Regions from separate parts of the Homo sapiens genome. Here regions 1 and 3 are each linked to region 2. The links are contacts of gene promoters, found by promoter capture Hi-C in blood cells and fetal thymus (Javierre and others, 2016). All regions are on one chromosome and are shown on one strand. The core of a region is centred on a gene start or on the middle of the fragment in contact, and the rest is flanking DNA. Distances in the headings are between cores, read along the strand shown. Region 1 has its middle 42 kb from the start of UHRF2. Region 2 holds the start of GLDC (glycine decarboxylase). Region 3 has its middle 26 kb from the start of TPD52L3.

Evidence for each region. The method cuts DNA at HindIII sites, captures the fragments that hold promoters and counts their contacts. A CHiCAGO score of 5 or more calls a contact.
Region 1: a fragment that was not itself captured here is called in contact with the fragment with the promoter of GLDC in region 2 in 1 of 17 cell types (endothelial precursors); the score reaches 5.2 in endothelial precursors.
Region 3: a contact is called between a fragment that was not itself captured here and the fragment with the promoter of GLDC in region 2, in 1 of 17 cell types (M0 macrophages). The highest score is 5.2, in M0 macrophages.

Annotation. Positions count from the first base shown.
Region 1 is chr9:6,369,511-6,372,986 of GRCh38, reverse strand. No RefSeq gene overlaps it. Among named protein-coding and RNA genes, the nearest start is that of UHRF2, 42 kb to the left of the region's middle. The HindIII fragment of the contact is 2,291 bases long and covers 628-2,918 here.
Region 2 is chr9:6,644,479-6,647,503 of GRCh38, reverse strand. GLDC (glycine decarboxylase) reads left to right here and starts at 1,775. Exons shown (of 25, transcript NM_000170.3): 1 at 1,775-2,259; 2 at 2,812-2,890. The coding sequence starts at 2,005. RefSeq lists enhancers at 768-867, 918-1,027, 2,008-2,565 and silencers at 1,698-1,947, 2,018-2,217, 2,258-2,327. The HindIII fragment of the contact is 9,537 bases long and covers 1-3,025 here.
Region 3 is chr9:6,352,689-6,356,222 of GRCh38, reverse strand. No RefSeq gene overlaps it. Among named protein-coding and RNA genes, the nearest start is that of TPD52L3, 26 kb to the right of the region's middle. The HindIII fragment of the contact is 5,954 bases long and covers 1-3,534 here.

The DNA of each region.
Region 1 (3,476 bases), core at 524-3,023, 270 kb after region 2:
TGAGGACTGGAGAGAGAGAAATCATGTTTCAAAACTTATCATACATTTATCATTAAATTCTAAACTCATTACTTGTTTTTAAACCCTGCTTGCCCCTGTGAACCAACCAGCAATCCCTGGCTGCAGCTCAAAAAGAACAAAAGGGATGGGTAATGTTAAAATCTGAATCAGTATTCTAGTTGAGCAATTATCCTGCAAATCCTGCAAGGTGATGGGAATAAATAGGATACCCAACACTCGGAGGTTTCCTTTTTGGGAAAGTAAGACCAAGGGAGCTAACCAAAGTGAAACACCATGCACCCAAATCTTAGCAAGCATAACTATAGCCACCAGTTATCTGGTTGTGTCACAAGACATTCTTTCCTGTCCGTTGTTGGAGGAGGACTTAGTTCCACAGTTTCATCTTAGCATAGTTCCACAGTTTCATCTTAGCATTTGGTTTATGACAAGGAGTCCATGCAACCCCCCGAGACATATTTTTGTCCCAAACTCAATTCCAAGCTTTGGGTCAAAGCCCTATGAAAGAAAACTGGATCTAATGGATCCAGAGCCAAATGACAACAGAGGTTAAAAGGCACAGCGCAGGTAAGCATGGCTGATTCCTGCCAATTAAGCCAAGCCCAAGCTTCCTGTTTCATGGATAAAGGCCACGTTAATATCCATGGCATAAATGAGATCTAGGGAACTCCAAGGCTACTGATAGTAGGGTGAATAGAGGCATACATGAGATTGGATAATTCCTATTCTCTAGGAACCCCCTGCTTCATGGGTGCAAGCTGCTTTGGCAATCATGGTGGGACCTGCCAAGGTCACCGGGATTCAGGGATGCAAGGATGGAAGAGGGAAAGAGGACGCTCTTCCTTCCCTCCCTCATGTACCTTGGGTATCTGCTAGGAGGAGAAGGAAACCAGGGATACCTGCTTCCCTCTTTCTAGATGGGTAGCCATTCATCTTCAGTCTGTACCTCTTTTGAATGCATCCTGAACCCTGAGACTCCTTTGAAAAAAAAAGCCTTCTTTTTTTCCTTTCTTCTCCTCTGTCCTCTTTTCACAGATAGGCAATTGTGCCTCCAGGACACTCACCTCAGATGTGTCCTCCAAACTGGAAAAAGTTAATTTCCCAAACCTTAAACTGGTTGGCTTAGGATTGGACTCAGGGGAAGAGAACCCAGAAGCCCAACATGCCAGCGAAAGGGTAAAGTTTCTCTGCCAGTCAGGCTTTTGGCCTCCCTCTCTCTGAAAGCTGGTAAAAGGCCACGGAATCCTTACCCCTCCCCTTATTTCATTTTATACATGTTTTCTAATAACCCAGTTTGTCTGTTCTTGCCTTCAGGCCATCAAACTCCAAGCAATCATGCAACCGGAGCCTCTGACGATGGCCCCTTCTGCTGGGAACCCTTAAATAGGCCTCTGAGGGAACTTTGATTGCTGTTTCCCAAAACAGTGCCCTCTGTCACAGGAAGCAGTTAAGATCAGTCTTTGTCCTTAATCTAACAGCAGTTAGATGTACTTCTTTAGAGAGGGTAATGAGACAGCCAGGTGGAGGGGTTCCCTGGAGAAACTCCAACTAACCTGTCCACTGGGTGGAGGCTTCAGACCTCATGCAAGTCTGAAATCCAATAGGGCAGTCATAAAACCTTAAAGTTCCAAAATGATCTCCTCTGACTCCATGTCTCACATCTAGGGCATGCTGATGCAAGAAGTGGGCTCTCACAGCCTTGGGTGGGTCCACTCCTGTAGCTTTGCAGGGCACAGCCCCCTTCCCAGCTGCTTCCACAAGCTGGTATTGAGTGTCGGTGGCTTTTCCAGGCACACAATGCAAGCTGTTGGTGGACCTACCATTCTGGGATCTGGAGGATGGTGGCCCTCTTCTGATAGCTCCACCAGGCAGTGCCCCACTGGGGACTCTGTGTGGGGGCTCTGACCCCACATTTCCCTTCTGTACTGCCCTGGCAGAGGTTGTCCACGAGGGCCCCACCCTTGCAGCAAACTTCTGCCTGGACATCCAGGTGTTTTCGTACATCCTCTGAAATCCAGGTGGAGGTTCCCAAACCTCAATTTTTGACTTCTGTGCAACTGCAGAGTCAACACCATGTTGAGGCTGCCAAGGCTTGGGGCTTGCACCCTCTGAAGCCATGGCCTGAGTGCTGTACCTTGGCCCCTTTTAGCTACAGCTAGAGCAGCTGGGACATAGGGCACCAAGTCTCTAGGCTGCACACAGCAGAGGCCCTGGGCCTAGCCCAGAAAACCATTTTTTTCTTCTAGGCTAGTGGGCCTCTGTTAAATTTATCCAATAGGGCTAGGTGCAGTGGCTCACACCTGTAATCCCAGCATTTTGGGAGGCTGAGGCAGTTGAATCACTTGAGCCCAGGAGTTCGAGACCCACCTGGGCAACATGGCAAAACCTCCTCTCTACAAAAAAAATACAAAAATTAGCTGAGAATGGTGGCGCCCACTTGTAGTCCCAGCTACTTGGGAGGCTGAGGTGGGAGGATCACTTGAGTCCAGGAGGCAGAGGATACAGTGAGCTGGGATCATGCCACTGGGGACCAGCCTATGACAGGGTGAGACCCTGTCTCAAAATAAAGAAAGAAAGAAATTTATCTGATAGGATTCTGAATTCCTTCTCTGTGTTATCTTGAATTTCACTGAATTTCTTTAACACAGCTATTTTGAATTCTCTCTCTGAAAGGTCACATATCTCTGTCTCTCCATAATTGGTCCCTGGTGACTTATTTAGTTCATTTGGTGAGGTCATGTTTTCCTACATGGTCTTGATTCTTGTGGATGTTTGTCAGTGTCTGGGCTTTAAGGAGTTAAGTATTCATTGTAGTCTTCACAGTCTGGGCTTGTTGTACCCACCCTTCTTGGGAAGACTTTCCAGGTGTTCAAAGGGACTTGGGTGTTGTGATTTAAGCTTTTGCCTATGGCAGCCATACCTGCATTAGGGGGCACCCCAAGCGCAGTATTGCTGTTGCTTTTGTAAGCTCATAGAAGTACCATATTGGTGGACTTGGATAAGATCCAGAAGAATTCTCTGGATTACCAGGCATAAGACTCTTGTTGTCTTCCCTTACTTTCTCCCACACAAACAGAGTCTCTTTCTGTGCTGAGCTGCCTAGAGCTAGGGGAGGGGTGACACAAGCACCATTGTGGCCCCCAGCATTCAGATTGTGCTGGGTTAGACCTGAAGCCAGCATAGCACTGGGTCTTGCTCAAGGCCTTTGGTAACCACTGCCTAGCTATACTGCCTATATTCACTCATGGCACTAGGGCTCTTCAATCAGCAGGTAGTAAAGCCAGCCAGGACTTTGTCTTCCCTTCAGGGCAGCAAGATCCTCCCCAGCCCCAGGCAGGTCCAGAAATTCCATCTGGGAGACAGGGCCCGGAGTTTGAAACCCAAGAAATCCACCTGGTGCTCTATCCCATTGTGGCTAAGCTGGCACTGAAACAACAAGACAAAGTCCTTCCCACTCT
Region 2 (3,025 bases), core at 526-3,025:
GTTGTAATTTCAATTCCAAATGGCCGAAAAACTTTTCGGAGACATTCAGCCCAGCCGTCCTAGCTCACCACCCGCCTCCGTCTGCCATACAGACATTTTACCTACTGTTCTTTGTGGTGTATTTTCCTGCCCTCTTTTCCATCTCTACTTTCCTGCCTCTCTGGATAGTCTGTGCCTCCTGGGTACGGAGCCCAGAATCTGTTAAGGGTGATTGGAGGAGGAAACTTAGCAGATAAGCAAGAAAGAGAACAGGTTTTATTTTCCCCTAGTCTAAGTACAAGTAATGTTCTGATTACTTCTGTCCTCTCTTCCCCATATTAGAACAACTGGAATTTTAAAAGTTCATTCTCTTGCTAAAACTGTCATGAGACAGCTGGAGATGGTACATTTACAAAAAATCCAGTTCTAGATGGCTAACTTTCAAAGTAAGACGACAGTGAACAATGTCTATCTTAATATCCTTTGTACTTTTGCTGGGCGCAGTGGCTCACGCCTGTAATGACGGATCACGAGGTCAGGAGATCGAGACCATCCTGCCTAAAACGGTGAAACCCCGTCTCTACTAAAAATAAAAATAAAAAATGGCCGGCCGTGGTGGCACGTGCCTGTAGTCCCAGCTACTCAGGAGCCTGAGGCAGGACAATCGCTTGAACCCGGGAGGTGGAGGTTGCAGTGAGCCAAGATCGCGCCACTGCACTCCAGCCAGGGCGACAGAGCGAGATTCCGTCTCAAAAACAACAACAAAATATCCTTTGTAGTTTTACACACACACGTATATGTATATACAGTACATATATTTAAAAAAACATATACACACACACACACAGTTCTTTTTTTTTTTTTTTTCCTGAGTCTCGTTCTGTGGCCCACGCTGGAGTGCAGTGGTGCGATCACATCTCACTGCAGCCTGAAACTCCCTGACTCAAGCAATCCTCCCACCTCAGCCTCCAGAGTAGCTGGGACTTCAGAAGCACGCAACCACGCCCCACTAATTTTTGTATTTTTTGTAGAGACAGGGTTTCACAATGCTGCCCAAGCTGGTCTCGAACTCCTGGGCTCAAGCTATCCTACCGCGTCGGTTTCCGAAAGTGTTGCGATTACAGGCGTGAGCCATAGCGTTACATGTGGTGGGGGGGAAGAGAGAGAAAGAGAGAGAGTGAGAAGAAGGAGGAGGAGGAGGAGGAGGAGAAAGAAGGAAGAAAGAAAAGAAAAGAAATATAGAGAGGGTGTTCAAATCTACTGTTCAAGTGCTTTCCATGTACATATAATCTCTTTTTAAAATCCCATCCAGCTCTGTTGAGATGAGAAAACTGAAGCTCTGAGAGGTTGAGTAACTTTATCACGCTCCCGCAAAGATAAAAGAACCGCCATCTGCCCATATTAATTTCCCTGAGATGAAATGTGACAGAGAAAGATACCTCAAAATTAAGGAAATGGAGAGCTTCGAGAATCATCTTCCATCTCCGCCGAGTCCCCCAGGAACTTGGCCCGGAGTCTTTGGGCTGTCCCACCTGATCTTGCCCCAGTGCGGCTCCACACCCTGGCGGGCGGCGTACGGAGCGTCCCGGCCCCCGGCACCAGCCAGCGTCGGAGTGGGTAGGACTGGAGATGGCAGCCTCCGGTCCAGGGGAAGCGGGACTCCACGGAAGGGCTGGGAAGAGGGTAGGAAGAGGGGGCGGGGGCGGGAACTGTTCCGCCCCCTCCCCCTCTGTCTACTTTCATTGGCCAAGGGCTTCCTGGCCCCAACCCACCTCCCGCCTCCAGGGCGCCGCTTAAAGTGTGCGGAGCAGGTGCCTTGGGTGGAGCCACAACTTTGCGCGAGTGTCTTGGTTGAGCGCAGCGCCCATTCATTGCCCGCGAGCGTCCATCCATCTGTCCGGCCGACTGTCCAGCGAAAGGGGCTCCAGGCCGGGCGCAGCCGCCACCCGGGGGACCGAGGCCAGGAGAGGGGCCAAGAGCGCGGCTGACCCTTGCGGGCCGGGGCAGGGGACGGTGGCCGCGGCCATGCAGTCCTGTGCCAGGGCGTGGGGGCTGCGCCTGGGCCGCGGGGTCGGGGGCGGCCGCCGCCTGGCTGGGGGATCGGGGCCGTGCTGGGCGCCGCGGAGCCGGGACAGCAGCAGTGGCGGCGGGGACAGCGCCGCGGCTGGGGCCTCGCGCCTCCTGGAGCGCCTTCTGCCCAGACACGACGACTTCGCTCGGAGGCACATCGGCCCTGGGGACAAAGACCAGAGAGAGATGCTGCAGACCTTGGGGCTGGCGGTAAGGACCTCCACCCGGCCCTCCGCGGCCTCCCCTCCGCCCTGCCCGGGCTCTGCCTGCGCGGCCTCCCGGCTCCTACCCTGAGCTCTGCTGCGCTCCGCGTGGTCCCCGCACCCTGGGTCCCGGGCCGTGGCGTGGAAGCAAATTCGTGCCTTTGGTCCTCGTGCCTTCTTACTTCTTAACAGCTTACTTTCTCCTGCACCCAGTCTTCGTGCCTCAAAAGTGTACATTTTTAAACCACCCCCAGCCCAAGTGGCCCTGTGGATGGACCTAAACTTTGCAAGAGGAGGAAGACCCCCTGATTAAGAGTGGGCTTACCGGTTAGCTCCGGTTGCAACTGAAATCCAACCCCGAGTGGCGGAATCTCCACCCCACTTCACGATTTTCTTTCCTCCAAATCATTCTGGCTTGCTCAGAGTTTTCCTTTTCTTTTAAAAAGAACCCTAATTAGGCGATTTCAATGAGGTTCCCACAAGGCTTTGTAGTCGCAAAACACAGAGGTGACTCTTTTAACTCAGAGGCACTTTCCTCTGCCTTGCGTTTTAATTTTAGAGCATTGATGAATTGATCGAGAAGACGGTCCCTGCCAACATCCGTTTGAAAAGACCCTTGAAAATGGAAGACCCTGTTTGTAAGTGGCCGGGAGGGCTCCCTTGGACTTAGATTATTCTGGCCTATTTGTCTTTTGTGGTTCCCTGAAAATCGAGCTCTGGGGTAAGGATTGCTCAGGACTGGGAATGTGTGGATTAAAATAAAACAGTGGCGG
Region 3 (3,534 bases), core at 901-3,400, 290 kb after region 2:
CCTTGATTTCTAAAAAAAAAAAAAAAGTGCAGGACATTTCTTACATGTGAAAATGTTTGTTACTGAAGTGTCATATGAAAAAGCCTGTTTTCAAATCATGATGTAGTTTCTTTTTTTCAGAAAAACTTGCAGTGTGGAAATATTCTCATGTACTAGAAATTGATTCCATTGTTTTGCTAAGGGCCTCCCAAAAAGGATAAATATGATTTGGTGGCCTAGCTTGCATATAAACAATGAGCTAGAGCTCACTTAGTAATGGCATCTTTTCAGGGTTAACTAGACTTTCAGCTTCACTGAGAAGACTGCATGAGTCATTTTCTCTCTGTTTCACGTGCTCTTTCACACAGTTATGCTAAAGCAGCTAAAATGCAGTTTAATAATTTGAATTTAGACAAACTTAACTCTCTGAACTTCAGTAAAGTGTATTTGTATCAGATATGCTTTAGTTTTCATGATCAAAAAGCCCAAAGAAGCTAAAATTAAACTTCCTTCCGACTTTTACTCATTCCTTTACATTTCTAAGCAAGTGAGACTCAAAATCATGGCTTTGATTCTATAGGAATCAGTGAATGTGCCAGCCAGAGGCCTCAGAATTCTTTAAAACCTGACCAGAAGGAAGGGAACGTATTTCTTGATCTCCAGAATGATCAAAAGGCAATATGAAAAGCTCTCAAGCAAAAAGGATACAAAATTATTCCTTGTCTTATGAATCTAACAGGTCCAAAAGATGTCAATACATCTTCCTCCCTCATTTGAGGGTTACACAAGCAGTCCCCATGTCAGAATGGCAGAATTCCAGCGGTTCGTTTGCAGAAGTAAGTTCTGTGGGACTCAGGATGCGTTCTCCATAGTAACCACATTATGTCTGCCTGGTGGTTAGCTAGGTTTAATCCATAATCCTCTGAAGTAGAGTTCCAGAATTACAGGACTTGACCACCTCATTTTTTTTTTTTTTTTTTTGAGATGGAGTCTTGCTCTGTCACCAAGGCTGGAGTGCAGTGGCACGATCTCGGCTCACTGCAACCTCCATCTCCTGGGTTCAAGCAATTCTTCTGCCTCAGCCTCCCCAGTAGCTGAGATTACAGGTGTGTACCACCATGCCTAGCTAATTTTTGTATTTTTAGAAGAGACGGGGTTTCACCATGTTGGCCAGGCTGGTCTTGAACTCCTGACCTTGTGATCCACCCGCCTCGGCCTCCCAAACTGCTGGGATTACAGGCTTGAGCCACTGCACCTGGCCCATGAAGAGTATTTTTATAGGAAGATGTGTGGGACCAGCTAAGGATGCCAGGCATGGGGGAATCTTCCTTTCCCCAACTTCCCTCATTTCTGAGCCTCTGTAGCCTAGGGCAGAAAATTCTCCCTAGAAGATGATTGGGAGGAAGGTAATGAGATGTGGAGCTGGAGGCCTTCAGAGTTTGGGAGTTGGAGGATGCCACCTCGTGAGAAGCTGTGAGTCTTTCTTGATCAGCTTGGGCAGCTCCTGGCTTACTTCCTTTCTTTTCATCTGCTGACCCTCAACATTGATCCTCTTGCTTCTCCCTTCACTGCCACAAACAACCTCTTCCTTGAGAGAAGCATTTTTCTCTTCTCATTTTAGATCAGAATAGAGTCCCCTCTACTTGCCTGGCTTGGAAGTAAATACATGGATTTAGTCCCATACTCTATGGAGTTAAAAAATTTCCCTGACCCTTTTCTTGTATTGCAAATTATTTCTACAGGTAAGGTTTAAGCCCTCATTAATGGCAAATATTTTTCAACTTAAGGAACTGGTGTAAAATTCATCCACATTTCAGGGGGAATCCTAGATTTAGGCTTTCATAAACATTTCTTCAAGAGTTGTGGCTGATGGAGGTATGGGGGTGAAGAACATCACAATGAAGTTTGTGTAGTGCAGAATAGTGTAAAATGACCATGTGAGTAGCACCCCCTTGTGTTGAAGAAGAGGTGTGAGTGTGGGAGGTTGCTGGAAGAAGGGGTGTATTACAGATATTCTTTTTATTCCTTTTCGCTAAATCCCTTCCTGCAGGGGCAGGAGCCCGGGATGCAGGGTTGGGCTGCTCAGAGACTGCTGAGTAAAGTAATTCAAGAGACAGTACCTCGGAGTAAAAACCACAACTAAGATGCCATCAAAAGGGACCATGGAGAGAGGTGAAATTCAAGTGGCAAAGGGATGGACAGTAGGGGAAGGTTGGCCCAAGCAAGAGATTTCCAGTGGAGTCTGAAGAGACTCCTTGAGCTGTCACCTGGAAGAGCACGCTAAGGATTTTCTTTTCTAAAACTCTGAAGTTCTAGAAGGGAAGGAAACTTTTTTTTTTCTTTTAGAGATGGGGTGTCACTCTGTCACCCAGGCTGGAATGCAGTGGTGCAATCATAACCCACTGAAGCCTCGAACTTGAACTGAGGCTCAAGCAATCCTCCCACCTCAGCCTCCCTGGTAGCTGGGACCACAGGCATGTGCCACCATACCCAGCTAATTTTTGTTTTTTATAGAGACAGGGTCTTGCTATGTTGCCCAGGCTGGTTTTCAGCTCCTGGGCTTAAGCGGTTGTTCTGCCTCAGCTTCCCAAAGCACTGGAATTATAGGCATGAGCCACTATGCTCAGGCAGAAGGAAACTTTTGAAGGAGCTGAGTAGACTTGCGTATCTTTCCTTAGATCACCATCAATCCTGCCTGGGCTAAGGTCAAAAGAGTGTCAGAACAGAATACTTTAAAGCATTCTGGAGGCAACACCTGAGCAGGTGAGGTGAGCAGAGGATTAAGAGCCAGGAGGCTGGCCGGGCGTGGTGGCTCACGCCTGTAATCCCAGCACTTTGGGAGGCCGAGGTGGATGGATCACGAGGTCAGGAGATCGAGACCATCCTGGCTAACAAGGTGAAACCCCGTCTCTACTAAAAATACAAAAAATTAGCCGGGCGTGGTGGCGGGCGCCTGTAGTCCTAGCTACTCGGGAGGCTGAGGTAAGATGGCGTGAACCCGGGAGGTGGAGGTTGCAGTGAGCCGAGACCGCCACTGCACTCCAGCCTGGGTGACAGAGCGAGACTCCATCTCAAAAAAAGAAAGAAAAAAAAAAAGAGCCACGAGGCTTAACAACCAGATCTATGGCAGAATTAGTCTTTGGCTTCCTTCATGCTCTTCAGTTTTTAGCGTCTTAAGATGCCTTCTTGGTTTGGATGAATTTGCCTTTCTGACTCCAGCTACCCTGATCTTTTGTTGAAGCTGTAATTTGTCATCATGCTTACCCCATTTCTAAGCATAAGCCAGGTCCCTCTTCTTGGCTCAGCCCTGCCTCCTTCCTGTCCCATGGAGTTTGGTCTGAGGAAGACTCAGTCAATTCCTGAGCTTTCTTTCTTCTTGTCATTTATTTATTGATCACTTGCTGTGTGTCGGATACTGCACTGAATGCTGGGGATTAGGGATTCAACATATAAATTTGGGGAGGGACGTAATTTATTCCATACAGATGTGAGGGAATTAGCTATATGGATATCCGAAGGAAGAACATTTATTTTAATCACATACAAAAATAATTA